4 separate regions of the Homo sapiens genome follow, and all the other regions are linked to region 4. The links are contacts of gene promoters, found by promoter capture Hi-C in blood cells and fetal thymus (Javierre and others, 2016). All regions are on one chromosome and are shown on one strand. The core of a region is centred on a gene start or on the middle of the fragment in contact, and the rest is flanking DNA. Distances in the headings are between cores, read along the strand shown. Region 1 overlaps DNAH6 (dynein axonemal heavy chain 6). Region 2 overlaps DNAH6 (dynein axonemal heavy chain 6). Region 3 overlaps TCF7L1 (transcription factor 7 like 1). Region 4 holds the start of TMSB10 (thymosin beta 10).

The links. Contacts are between HindIII fragments. The CHiCAGO score rates a contact against its expected background, and 5 or more counts as called.
Region 1: a contact is called between a fragment that was not itself captured here and the fragment with the promoter of TMSB10 in region 4, in 1 of 17 cell types (non-activated CD4 T cells). The highest score is 7.1, in non-activated CD4 T cells.
Region 2: a fragment that was not itself captured here is called in contact with the fragment with the promoter of TMSB10 in region 4 in 6 of 17 cell types (naive CD8 T cells, non-activated CD4 T cells, total CD4 T cells and 3 more); the score reaches 8.7 in naive CD8 T cells.
Region 3: a contact is called between a fragment that was not itself captured here and the fragment with the promoter of TMSB10 in region 4, in 2 of 17 cell types (M0 macrophages and fetal thymus). The highest score is 8.6, in M0 macrophages.

Annotation. Positions count from the first base shown.
Region 1 is chr2:84,533,190-84,535,916 of GRCh38, forward strand. The region is part of intron 4 of DNAH6 (dynein axonemal heavy chain 6); the gene reads left to right. Among named protein-coding and RNA genes, the nearest start is that of DNAH6, 18 kb to the left of the region's middle. The HindIII fragment of the contact is 614 bases long and covers 998-1,611 here.
Region 2 is chr2:84,633,538-84,636,237 of GRCh38, forward strand. It overlaps DNAH6 (dynein axonemal heavy chain 6), which reads left to right. Exons shown (of 77, transcript NM_001370.2): 30 at 967-1,104. Among named protein-coding and RNA genes, the nearest start is that of DNAH6, 120 kb to the left of the region's middle. The HindIII fragment of the contact is 1,490 bases long and covers 601-2,090 here.
Region 3 is chr2:85,288,622-85,291,457 of GRCh38, forward strand. All of the region lies in intron 4 of TCF7L1 (transcription factor 7 like 1), which reads left to right. Among named protein-coding and RNA genes, the nearest start is that of TGOLN2, 38 kb to the right of the region's middle. RefSeq lists an enhancer at 1,329-1,829. The HindIII fragment of the contact is 5,806 bases long and covers 1-2,836 here.
Region 4 is chr2:84,904,316-84,907,031 of GRCh38, forward strand. It overlaps TMSB10 (thymosin beta 10), which reads left to right and starts at 1,341. Exons shown (of 3, transcript NM_021103.4): 1 at 1,341-1,403; 2 at 1,688-1,802; 3 at 2,074-2,356. The coding sequence starts at 1,703. The coding sequence ends at 2,108. LOC105374836 (a long non-coding RNA gene) reads right to left here and starts at 2,706. Exons shown (of 2, transcript XR_940308.3): 1 at 2,348-2,706. RefSeq lists a silencer at 1,098-1,637 and enhancers at 1,604-2,716, 2,608-2,667. The HindIII fragment of the contact is 2,703 bases long and covers 1-1,960 here.

The DNA.
Region 1 (2,727 bases), core at 55-2,554, 370 kb before region 4:
AACCTCATTTTTTGACTTAGCATTGACAGAGAGTGAAAATTGTGGATCTCCTCAAATCAAGGATACTAACTGTGCACTTTTCCATGGTCATACAGTGAAATAACAAGTAAAAGATTTTATTTCAATCATGAAATATGCAGGAAATGAAGAGTAAGATTTAGAACATTTTGTGAAACTAATATTACTAATAAAGACCATTTCTATGATTTTAGGGGGCTTGCTCAAGGGTCATGTCTTAGAGATATGTTCAATATTTTGAGTAGACAGCGTTATCACTTTGGTGCCAAAATACTTTGAAGATAAGAATACAATATTGGAATTTTAGGCTGACTGAATTATAGTGTATATGGCGAATGTACCTTAGGACGGATTTGGCTCTTTCCAGCATCTTATGATTTTACTAGTTGGAGGAAAATAATTGATCATGTATTAGTGGGCATATCTATCCAAAAATCATATTTAAACTCAAAAACCTGAGGAGATAACTTTTCAATCCAAATTTAACCAAAGAGCTGATAAGAATTTGTTTACTTCCATTTTCTAAATTGAAACACTCAGCCTTGCAGCTTTATAGCATAATGTACTTATTGGCTTACCATCTGATTCAGTGCTAAAAGCAGACTCCAGTGAAATGATCAAGAAATTCTGGATCCATAGATTGTCTAGAGGTCCAGAACTATGTGACAGAAGTTCTAGTTACATGGTCTCATTTCCAAAAACTAAGGTTGTTATTGAAGATCTTTTAATTTTTTTTAAAAATTACAATGGGGAAAAGGAGCTAGCTGTGTGTGAACCCTCATCTGTGGCTCACACTACCCATCATTCAGATGGCTAAAGAGAACCTTCTTATTAATTTTTTAAAATTATGACATATTTATTATTTTAAAATTTGCAATGAGACCTTCACAAAATTTACATAACACTGATGGTCTGAGTGAGTATCAAATGCCCAGTCAGTGGTTCCAGATGCTAAATGTTTAACACAGCTATAAGGCAAAGCTTCCCAAGGAGTGTACTGCAGCCAAGCAAGTGACTCCCAGTGTGCCCTAGTTGTTTATGGTGGTAAAAACTTATTTTTTAAAAAAAAACACAATCGCTCAGAAATTTACCATGGGTGAAATTTTCTTTTTCTAATATTTGTATGGTTACCTTGTCAAACTTCCTGAATTCAGAAAATATTTCCGTGGGTAAGACTGTGTAGTCCCCGCTGCCAGAGAGCAGCTCTATAGTGGGAACACAACACAGCCTCTGCCACCTTCCTGTTGAACCATCCCACTGAGTTTGATTGTTACTGTAAACACTTCCTTTAGGTTTCTAAGACAAACTCAGTTTATCAGCAAAACTCTTTGTTTTGTGTATGTGAGAAACACAAAGAAATCCTTGTTCAGTTTTTTTTTAATTTCATTTGCTCTTTTTTTGTGTGTTTTCCTTTTGACACAATATTAGGTGTTCCTAAAAAAATAAGCAACAAGATGTTTCTGATTATTTTTTCTATCCCTTCTTTCCTCTTTTCCTCTTGTTTGGTTTTTGATGTTACCAACTGGGAAAAATCTGAATTTTAATTGAATTTCATAATTAATTGTTTTTAAAACTTAAAAAATAATTTTTCAAAGCTTAATTTTCAAATTCAACTTGGGAAATGTAATGTTTAAAATGGTTCTCATGATTTTTTAGACACTGTTGTGGGTTTGAACCTAAAGAAAGATTATTAAGTCAAATAGAATAACAGATTTAGCATTAGAAATAACATTTCTTTATTAGAAAACATATTCTAATAAAATTATCTTGGTAAAGAGCACTGTAGGCTTTCGTAATTTTCAAAGGTCTTTTTGATCCTATATGAGTGTAATTAATGTTTATTTTTTTAATTTTATAATTTTACTTCTTAAATTAATGAAACCTATATACCAATACTTTATATTTTCTTACCACATCCTTGAGTTTTTAAAAAATTTTAAATCATTTGCTGATATTAAGGTCTACAATTCTCTTGAATACTTCATGGTAATATGGATTTAATTTTGACATTTATTTATCTTTTTGCTCATTTATAAGGAAAATTTTCTGTTAAAGCTAGAAAACTATCAGATCTATATGGCAAACACAGAAGTCAAAAGAGATGAGAAATTAGGCAGCATAATTAGGATTATCTCAAACTTAGATTTGTAAACTACAGTAATAGACCTGTCCTTTTGCCTAAATATCTTATTTGTATAAAAATGTTATCAAATTAACCAGTGGTGTCAAACAAGTTATTTCAACACCTTTTCAGAGATATCCACCCCACCCAGAAAAGGGTTTGAGCTTTTAAAAGCATTACAAGAACAAAATATGAAACAAATTTCTGTTTTTAGATTAGTATCAGATAAAGAAGCTCAAGAAGCTAGGAGTGCAAGAACACATAATATCTAACATCAGAATGAATCACTATTGTAGAATTGTGATTTTACCAGCTTGTGTGGAAGTTTTTTATACTACTTGGAACCAGAAAAGCAAAAAAAAAAAAAAATCAGTAACATCATTAGTAGACCAACATATTAGATGATATAGATGATCATAATCCAAGACATTATTAAAGTTTTATTGCAATATTTAATTGCATATTGATGAATCTGTAGACATTAGTAACTGCTAGACAACAGCACTATTTAGAGTCTCTGAGGTGAAATGTCTGGAAGAACTTTGTTTAGGAAGAAGAAAAAAGAACTCTCTGGGGATTAAATATTC
Region 2 (2,700 bases), core at 96-2,595, 270 kb before region 4:
TATTCATGTTGCATGAATTGCAACTTGTGTATATTGATATTGGGTTTGGAGTTTCTTAGAGACCTCATGATGGGCATTACTCCTCTCCCTCTGTTTTGGGGCTGCAATTCTCCCTTCTCAGTTGAACAGTCTGTTTCCCTATGCTTTCCATATTCCAGCTTTTTTTTTTTCAAAACCTTCTTCCTGCTGGCTTCCCTTTCCATTATGTTTTTATCAAGCAGGTACAGGTATAAGTGTGGTCACAGAAAAGGAGAGAGATATGCACACAGATCTATCAGCCTTTCTGTGATTTGTGGGAATCGGAGGAAGGGGGGAAGTAGTATGTGTTCAGTTGACCACCTTGAAATTTAAAACCACTAGTTCTATTACTAAAGAGATAGATATATGGTATAATGCAAGATTTATATACATGCTTAACCAATATCTCAAGTGCCCAAAAGAAATGCCACACTTTAGATGGTACATTCTTATTTTCCTCCACCATTAGGATTCTGCTGTAGAAGAAATTAAGAATCACTACTATAATCTGCACAGCTATGCCTTCTGCTCAGTAGTCCTTGTGTGTGTCTGCCATGTAGAATACCTTCTAAAGACAATGAAAGCTTCCATTAGTAAAATTTTTCAAGTTTTTTTAAAGTTCTTAAGTTTGTATGTTCCATGTGTTAAACTATTTGAGAATCTGTCAAGTATTTGCAGAGGTGAGTGGAGGTTATAAACAAGAAGGAAAATTGGTCAGATTGTCATTTTGTTTAAAAATAAAACAGATTCAAATCACTTAGAGAGACTCAAAAACATATTTCCTCTTGTAGAAAAGTGTTTACTTCTGACATAGACCAGTATTCACATAAAACTATTGCTTATTTGCAGATACCACCTCTTTTTTCTTTAATATTTCAGCTCAGAATTTAATTTTTGAAGGAGCTGAACTACACAATACAAAGTTGAACTGCTTTATTTTGATTTCAGATGATGGGGCGCTTCTTCAGTGGCTTGGCACAGTCAGGGGCCTGGTGCTGCTTTGATGAATTTAATCGAATTGACATAGAAGTTCTGTCCGTCATCGCGCAGCAACTCATTACCATTAGGAACGCCAAAGCGGCAAAGGTAAGGCACTGGGCAATCGACTTTCAAGGTAGCAATCCTTAAATTTGTCATTAACTCACAGAATGTTACATTTTAGGAAGGAGATGCTAAAAATGTTAGGGAGGAATCCTGGGGAGCCCAAGGGGACCTTGGCTCTCCAGAGCTCACTGGACTAGAAAATCCAAGGAATATGGTGCCAGATGAAGACACTGAGTGGTCCTGTTATTTAAAATTTGTTTTAGCCCCTTATTAGCATGTCTCTAGAGAAGGGATTTCATATTCAGAAGCTGATGGCAGTGAAGGTTGGGACCAAGTCTCTACCACTCTGTGTTGACCTTTGGAGATCTGGTCACAATGGGCAGCACTGGTGTTCAGCCTCTACAAACCAAAACAGCACTGCTCCAAGCCCTGTGAGGGCCCCCACTACTCCCTTGGCCCTTTCGGAAGAGCCCCAGACGTCCTCTCGATTCAACAATAAGGGTTCATCCTGGCACAGCACGGGGGACTCTGGACTCAGCTCTAGCTCCAGAGGCAGAGGCTATCTCATTGGAAGGTGTCCTGATAAGAGTTGTTAAATATTTTGATTATCGCCCTCTGCAAAAAAGCGAATTACAGAACAAATAAAAAGAAATCATGACTTGGACTATAGTGAGCTACTAAATTGTGTAAGTCATTATGGTATGTGCTCACACTTATTTCATCTTACACCAAATCTACGTGAAGTATATGTCATTTCCCCCAAGGTAATAGGTGAAAAGAATTCAAAGTTAAAAAAATATTTTCATAGACACCAAAAATTATTAGACTCTAAAGTCTAAGCTCCCTTATCTGTACTCCCTCTTGTTCCCGCATACTCTGGGGAGGCCTATATTAAACACAAGATCTTTAAATACAGAGATAGCATAGTCTATATTGTGCAAGTTATTATCATCTGGCTGAGCAATTCACTGAAAGCAAAGTATATGGAGTAAGGGGACAGGGACCAGAGAGAGTAGAGGCAGGATTGAAGCTTTGCCCACTGGAGAGCAGCTACATGAGGACAGAGGAGACAGGAGAGCATCTGCAAATAACCAGCCTCGTCCTGAAGCTGCCAGTGCCCTATGAGACAGTTGGGGTGGGGTATACTGTTTAGAATAGGTAAACTAAACCACAGAAATTGAGAGGTTTGCTAGCACAAGCAACCATTCAGCAGCAGCAGAAATGGTCTCCAGTTGTACCATGCATTCTCTCCTCCAGGCTGTGGCACATCACCTTACTCCATCCTGGTCTTCCCTGTATTCCTCATGTCTGTTGATAGCATCTTCATCTAGTGCCCAACTAGAAACCTGGAACTCACCTTGGATTTGACCCATCACTATTAATCCCAGAATCTAAGCCATCACCAAGTCTTGTTAATTTTATCTGCTAGATGCCTCTCCTCCCAACTTACACCTCTTGAATTCTGGCTCTCATTATGTCCCTAATGATCATTCCTTACTGGTCTCCCTGTCTGTAGCCTGTCCAACCTCTCTGCTGCCAATTTTGATCCTATCACTCTGCTTCCCCCCAAACATGGGACAAAATCTAAATTCCTTAGTTTAGTGTGCAGGACTCCTGATGCTCAGGCCCAGCCTAGCT
Region 3 (2,836 bases), core at 337-2,836, 380 kb after region 4:
TAGAAGCTGCCTAACAAGGAAGTATGTCTAAGCAAGTCACAACTGGGCCCGGGTGCGGGATGAAGTTAAGTGCTTAATAATTTGGACTTTACACCTTCAAAACAAGCTCTAAAGACTAACAGTAACATTGTATAAGCAACTATTTGTAAGATCCGATCAGTGTAATTTCATCACTTGCAGATTATTATCCAGACCCCTCACCATGGCCCCACATGCCAGGTGCCTGTCTTCCCTCCAGTGTCCCCCAGGAGCACTGTGTCCAGCCACGCAAAACACATATATGCCCCTCTAGAATATAAGCAACACGAAGACAGGAATCGCATCTGAGCGCCTGTTGTAATGCTCGGGAGCATTTGTTGAATGAATGGAAGAATGAATGGTCTGGTAAAAAGTTAATACCCCTTCTCTACCCACATTTACCCAAGATCCAACCCCTTTTTTCATTCAGAACTGTTTTTTAATTTTAAAAAATCTTTTTTTGAAACCGTAAAAGTAATGCATGCACTGTGTAGAACTCTTGGGAAAATGCCAGAAAGCACAGAAAAAGATCTATAATCCCACAACCCACAAACATTTTGTTAAATAGTATTTCAGTCTGGAGTGTGTGTGTGTGTGTGTGTGTGTGTGTGTGTATACTTATAACTTGCTCTCTGATGACCAAAATGCTTCCTGTCCAGGTAGATGCCTAATAAATTCTGCTGAGTTACAGGCAAATGGGGCCAGAGACCCAGAGACCAGGAGACAAATAATCCAGATAACTTGGAAATGGTTGCAGTTCTCCAAAACTTTAGAGTGACTTAATCCAGCTTTTTGGAAAATGGTCAGATATTCAGGGGTTTTTTAATGCAAATTTTAGCTGTTAGGCTGAGCATCCAGAATCAGAAAAGGGACCTAGAGAGTAAGGAGTTGAGGGATAGAGGAAGGTGTAGAGAAAAATCTAGATGAGGTTAGTGCAAAGGCAGAAATATCTACCACCTTTGAAACTTTGCCACCTCTCTCTTCCTGGTTGCCTTTTATTTAAACATTTTAAAAATAGATAGACATAGATGGTTTCCAGTTGTTTGTTTGTTTTGAGACAGTCTCACTGTTGCCCAGGCTGGAGTGCAGTGGCACAAACTCAGCTCACTGCAACCTCCACCTCCTGGGTTCAAGAGATTCTCCTGCCTCAGCCTCCCGAGTACCTGGGATTACAGGTATTCACCACCACGCCCAGCTAATTTTTTTGTATTTTTAGTAGAGACGGGGTTTCATCATGTTGGCTAGGCTGGTCTGGCACTCCTGGCCTCACGGGATCCGCGCACCTCAGCCTCCCAAAGTGCTGGGATTACAGGCACGAGCCACCACGCCTAGCCCAGTTTTTTTTTTTTTTTCTCCGAGACAGAGTCTCACTATGTCGCCCAGGCTGGAGTGCAGTGGTGCGATCTCAGCTCACTGCAACTTTCACACTCCGGGTTCAAGCAATTCTCCCTGCCTCAGCCTCCCAAGTAGCTGGGATTACAGGCGCCTGCCACCACACATGGCTAATTTTTGTATTTTTTTAGTAGAGACGGGGTTTCACCATGATAGCCAGGCTGGTCTTGAACTCCTGACCTCAGGTGATCTGCCCGCCTTGGCCTCCCAAAGTGCTGGAATTACAGGCGTGAGCCACCTCACCCGGCCCCAGTTTTTAAGCTAAAGTTAGCATCCTGTGCATATATTTGTATACGTGTGCGCTTTTCCCCCCATTTAAAAAAAATTAGAGTTAGGGTCTCGCTATGTTGCTCAGGCTGGCCTTGCACTCCTGGCCTCAAGTGATCCGCCTGCCTCAGTCTCCAAAAGTGCTAGGATTACAGGCATGAGCCATCATGCCCAACCTCCCCATTTTTAAGATATAATTTACATATAGTGAAATTCACATGAGTATATAGTTCTGTGAGTTTTGACAAACTTTTGCAGTCATACATGAGTTCACCACAATCAAGATATAGAACAGTTCTCCTAGTCAGCTTAGCTTGGTATGAAAAGTAAAAATAAAAAAGATATAGGACAGTTCTGTGTTAGGGTTCTCCAGGGAAACAGAACCAAGGTGATGTATGTATATATAGCGAGTGAGTGAGTGAGTGTGAATGTGTAGAGGGAGAAAGATTTAAGAGGGTAAGCTGGCAGGCTGGAGACTGGCAGGGAAGAGTTACAGTCTAAGTCTAAAGGCAGTCTGCTAGCAGAGTTCTATTCAATTTAATGCTCAAGAATAATCCTCTTTGGCACCATTCATTCTCTGTCCTTCCAGCCCACCAGGATGGGAGCTGGGAGCTGTGCCCCTGAGGCCCTGGGCGGCAGCCACACCTTGTGAATCCCCTCTTGGGGTCATTCTTCCCTCTTCTTGAAAGATAACAAATGTTTGCAGCCACATCACTGTAGCCCATTCTGTAGAAGTCTGACAGCCTTCCTTCCCTTTGTCCTGTCTTTGTCCATTTTAATCCAAAAGGGCAGTATTTCTGCTGAGGTGGTTGGTTGAATCCATGCTTCACAGCCCCAGTCTCATTATCTGATCGTCCAGCCACACCATTGGTGTTCTCTTAGGAACACACCTTCTCATTTTTTTGCAATGAGGCTAGGCTGAGAATTTTCTAAATTTTCAAGTTCTGGTTCCTTTTTGCTTAACAATAATTTACTTCTCACATTTTACTACAAGCAGTAAGGAGAAACCAAGCCACACCTTCAGCACTTTGCTTAGAAATAACTTGTGCTGAATATCTAAATTCATCACTCACAAGTTCTACCTTTCACAAAACACTACAAAATAACTCAGCCATGTTTCTTCCCACTTTGTAACAAGAATCGCCTTTCCACTAGTTCC
Region 4 (2,716 bases), core at 91-2,590:
GGCAACATGGTGAAATCTCGTCTCTACAAAAAGAACACAAAAGATTTGCCGCTAGTGGTGGTGCACGCCCGCAGTCCCAACTGCTCAGGAGGCTGAGGTGGAAGAATCACTTGAACCGGGGAAGTCCAGGCTGCCATAAGCCGTGATCACACCACTGCACTCCAGCCTGGGTGACAGAGTGAGACCCTGTCTCAAAAAAAGTAAATAAATAAAATCAGGACCGAATTTAGGATGTCACCACCAAATCCCACTTTAAAGAGCTCGGTAATACTTCACACTTAAAAAAGGAAAGGTCAGGACAAATAAAAGAATGACCAGCCTTAACTCCGGGGCTGGTAATTTATGGAACTTATTACCTAACGGTGTTGCACAGGCTGAAAATACAACTTTTCTAAGAAAGATGTGAATAATTGCAGTATACCACTCCTACAATGGGTTAATAAGAAAAACAAGAACGTTTGTAGGCATGTGGGTCTCTATTATCCTCAAGGTTAACTTCAAGGAGGAAAACCGCACCCGCTGATACAGTGTTTCTAGGAGCTCGACGAGAAAAGGCAAACTGCGAGCCTTCTCGGGACGCCCTGTTCCCACCACAGCCCTTCACACAATGCGTCTAACAGCATTTAAGGAACACCCGCCACGCCAACGATCCTGCTGGAACCGCCCAGTTCAGGGAACAGGGGACGACTGACCAGAAGGCAACCGCCCCCAACCTGAGCAAAGAGCGCTGGAAACCTATTCCCCCCTCCCCCTACACCCCCCCGCCCCCCGCTCCACTACGGGACCCTCGGCTCGAATTCTTTTAGTGCAGGACCACCTTAGGACTCAGCCTCCCTAAGGAGAGGAAAAGTGGGGGAGGGAAGGGGACTCTGGAGGAGCAAAAGCAAGAGGCCTGGGGGCGACTGGGGTGGGGCGTCTCCTAGAGCGAGGATTGCTGCAGAGTGCGCGTGCACGCCCGCACATCCACACCCACGGCTACACATCATATCTGCACACGCACAAAACCACACACCCTCCCACGCCGGTCCCATATCCTTTCTGCGGGGTGAGCAGCAGATTCCCGGAAAGGGGGAAATGTAGCCGCAAAAGCAAAGCCGGGGGCCTGGCGCCCACTCTGGCGGCGACTACAGCCCCCACGCTGGGCACACTGCGAGCTGGGGGTGCCCGGCGCGGGAGAAGCCGCGCCCAGCCGGGCTGGTAGCCCAGCGGGGGGCGCGGCAGGGCGAGGAGCAGCCCGCGCTGCTCCCGCCCCTCGGGTGCCAGCACCGCCCCTGCTGCGGCGGGTGAGGGGCGGGGCGGGGCGCGGCGTATATAAGGCTAGGGGCGGGCGCCGCTCTTTTGTTTCTTGCTGCAGCAACGCGAGTGGGAGCACCAGGATCTCGGGCTCGGAACGAGACTGCACGGTGAGTGCGGCGCCGGGGCGGGGGGCCCACCCAGGGTGTGGTCGGATCCGGTGCACCGGGCGGGCGCGCCGCAACCGCGACAGGCGCCCTTCTCGGACCGGACGCAGGGGCCGGCGACCACGCCCTGGGACCGAGAAGAGGGGTGCGGGACGCGCCCAGATCCTCGGCCTTGGGGCTGCTCGGCACGCCTTGGCGCGAGTGCCACGTCGAGAGGCGTCGGCGGGGAGCGCGGAAGGGGACGCTGGCCCCCAGGCCCAGGTCAAGCGCCTTGGTTTGCCCACTAGGATTGTTTTAAGAAAATGGCAGACAAACCAGACATGGGGGAAATCGCCAGCTTCGATAAGGCCAAGCTGAAGAAAACGGAGACGCAGGAGAAGAACACCCTGCCGACCAAAGAGAGTGAGTGTGCCTCGGTCTCCCGCGCCCCAGCCCAGCCCCTCACCCTGCTCTTCCTTGCAAACCCACTCCTCCACCCCCCACCCCGCCGTTGTCCCCGGTGTGGGCGGCCCCGGCCACTCTTTCAGTTTCACAAAGCGCCTTGTTTCTCCCCAGCCCCAAGCTTCCTTCTAAATCCCCACACCTCGTGGGTGCCTCGCCCACACCGGGAAGCACCTCGGTTGCGGGTGGGGGTTGCAGCTCCCCTCCAGCGCCCGCTTCCCGCTCTCCACAGCCATTGAGCAGGAGAAGCGGAGTGAAATTTCCTAAGATCCTGGAGGATTTCCTACCCCCGTCCTCTTCGAGACCCCAGTCGTGATGTGGAGGAAGAGCCACCTGCAAGATGGACACGAGCCACAAGCTGCACTGTGAACCTGGGCACTCCGCGCCGATGCCACCGGCCTGTGGGTCTCTGAAGGGACCCCCCCCCAATCGGACTGCCAAATTCTCCGGTTTGCCCCGGGATATTATAGAAAATTATTTGTATGAATAATGAAAATAAAACACACCTCGTGGCATGGCTGGCGTGGTCTGAGTCTTTTAGTTGAGTATGCGTGGGCAGTGCCACTGCAGCAAAGCCCCTCGATGGAGTAGAGTTCCTGCCGCAAAGGGGAGGAGGTGGGTCGCAGAATGGGCTGACTCGGAGGGAGTTTTTAATTTTGGCTTTACCTGCTTCTCCGTAAGATTTCATGACTTGTTAGCCACTTAACTCTTGCTCGTAAGCAATCTGTGTAAAATTTAACCCCACTTTGTCCCCAGGTTGCGTTGGAAAATGCTTTTTCAAAAGAGCAAGGTTTGCTTTTGATAAGCTTCGAAAGCCCCACTGTTTCCCTCTGGCCTCCTCCTAGCTGACTCAGAAGGGAACACTGATTTTAAAG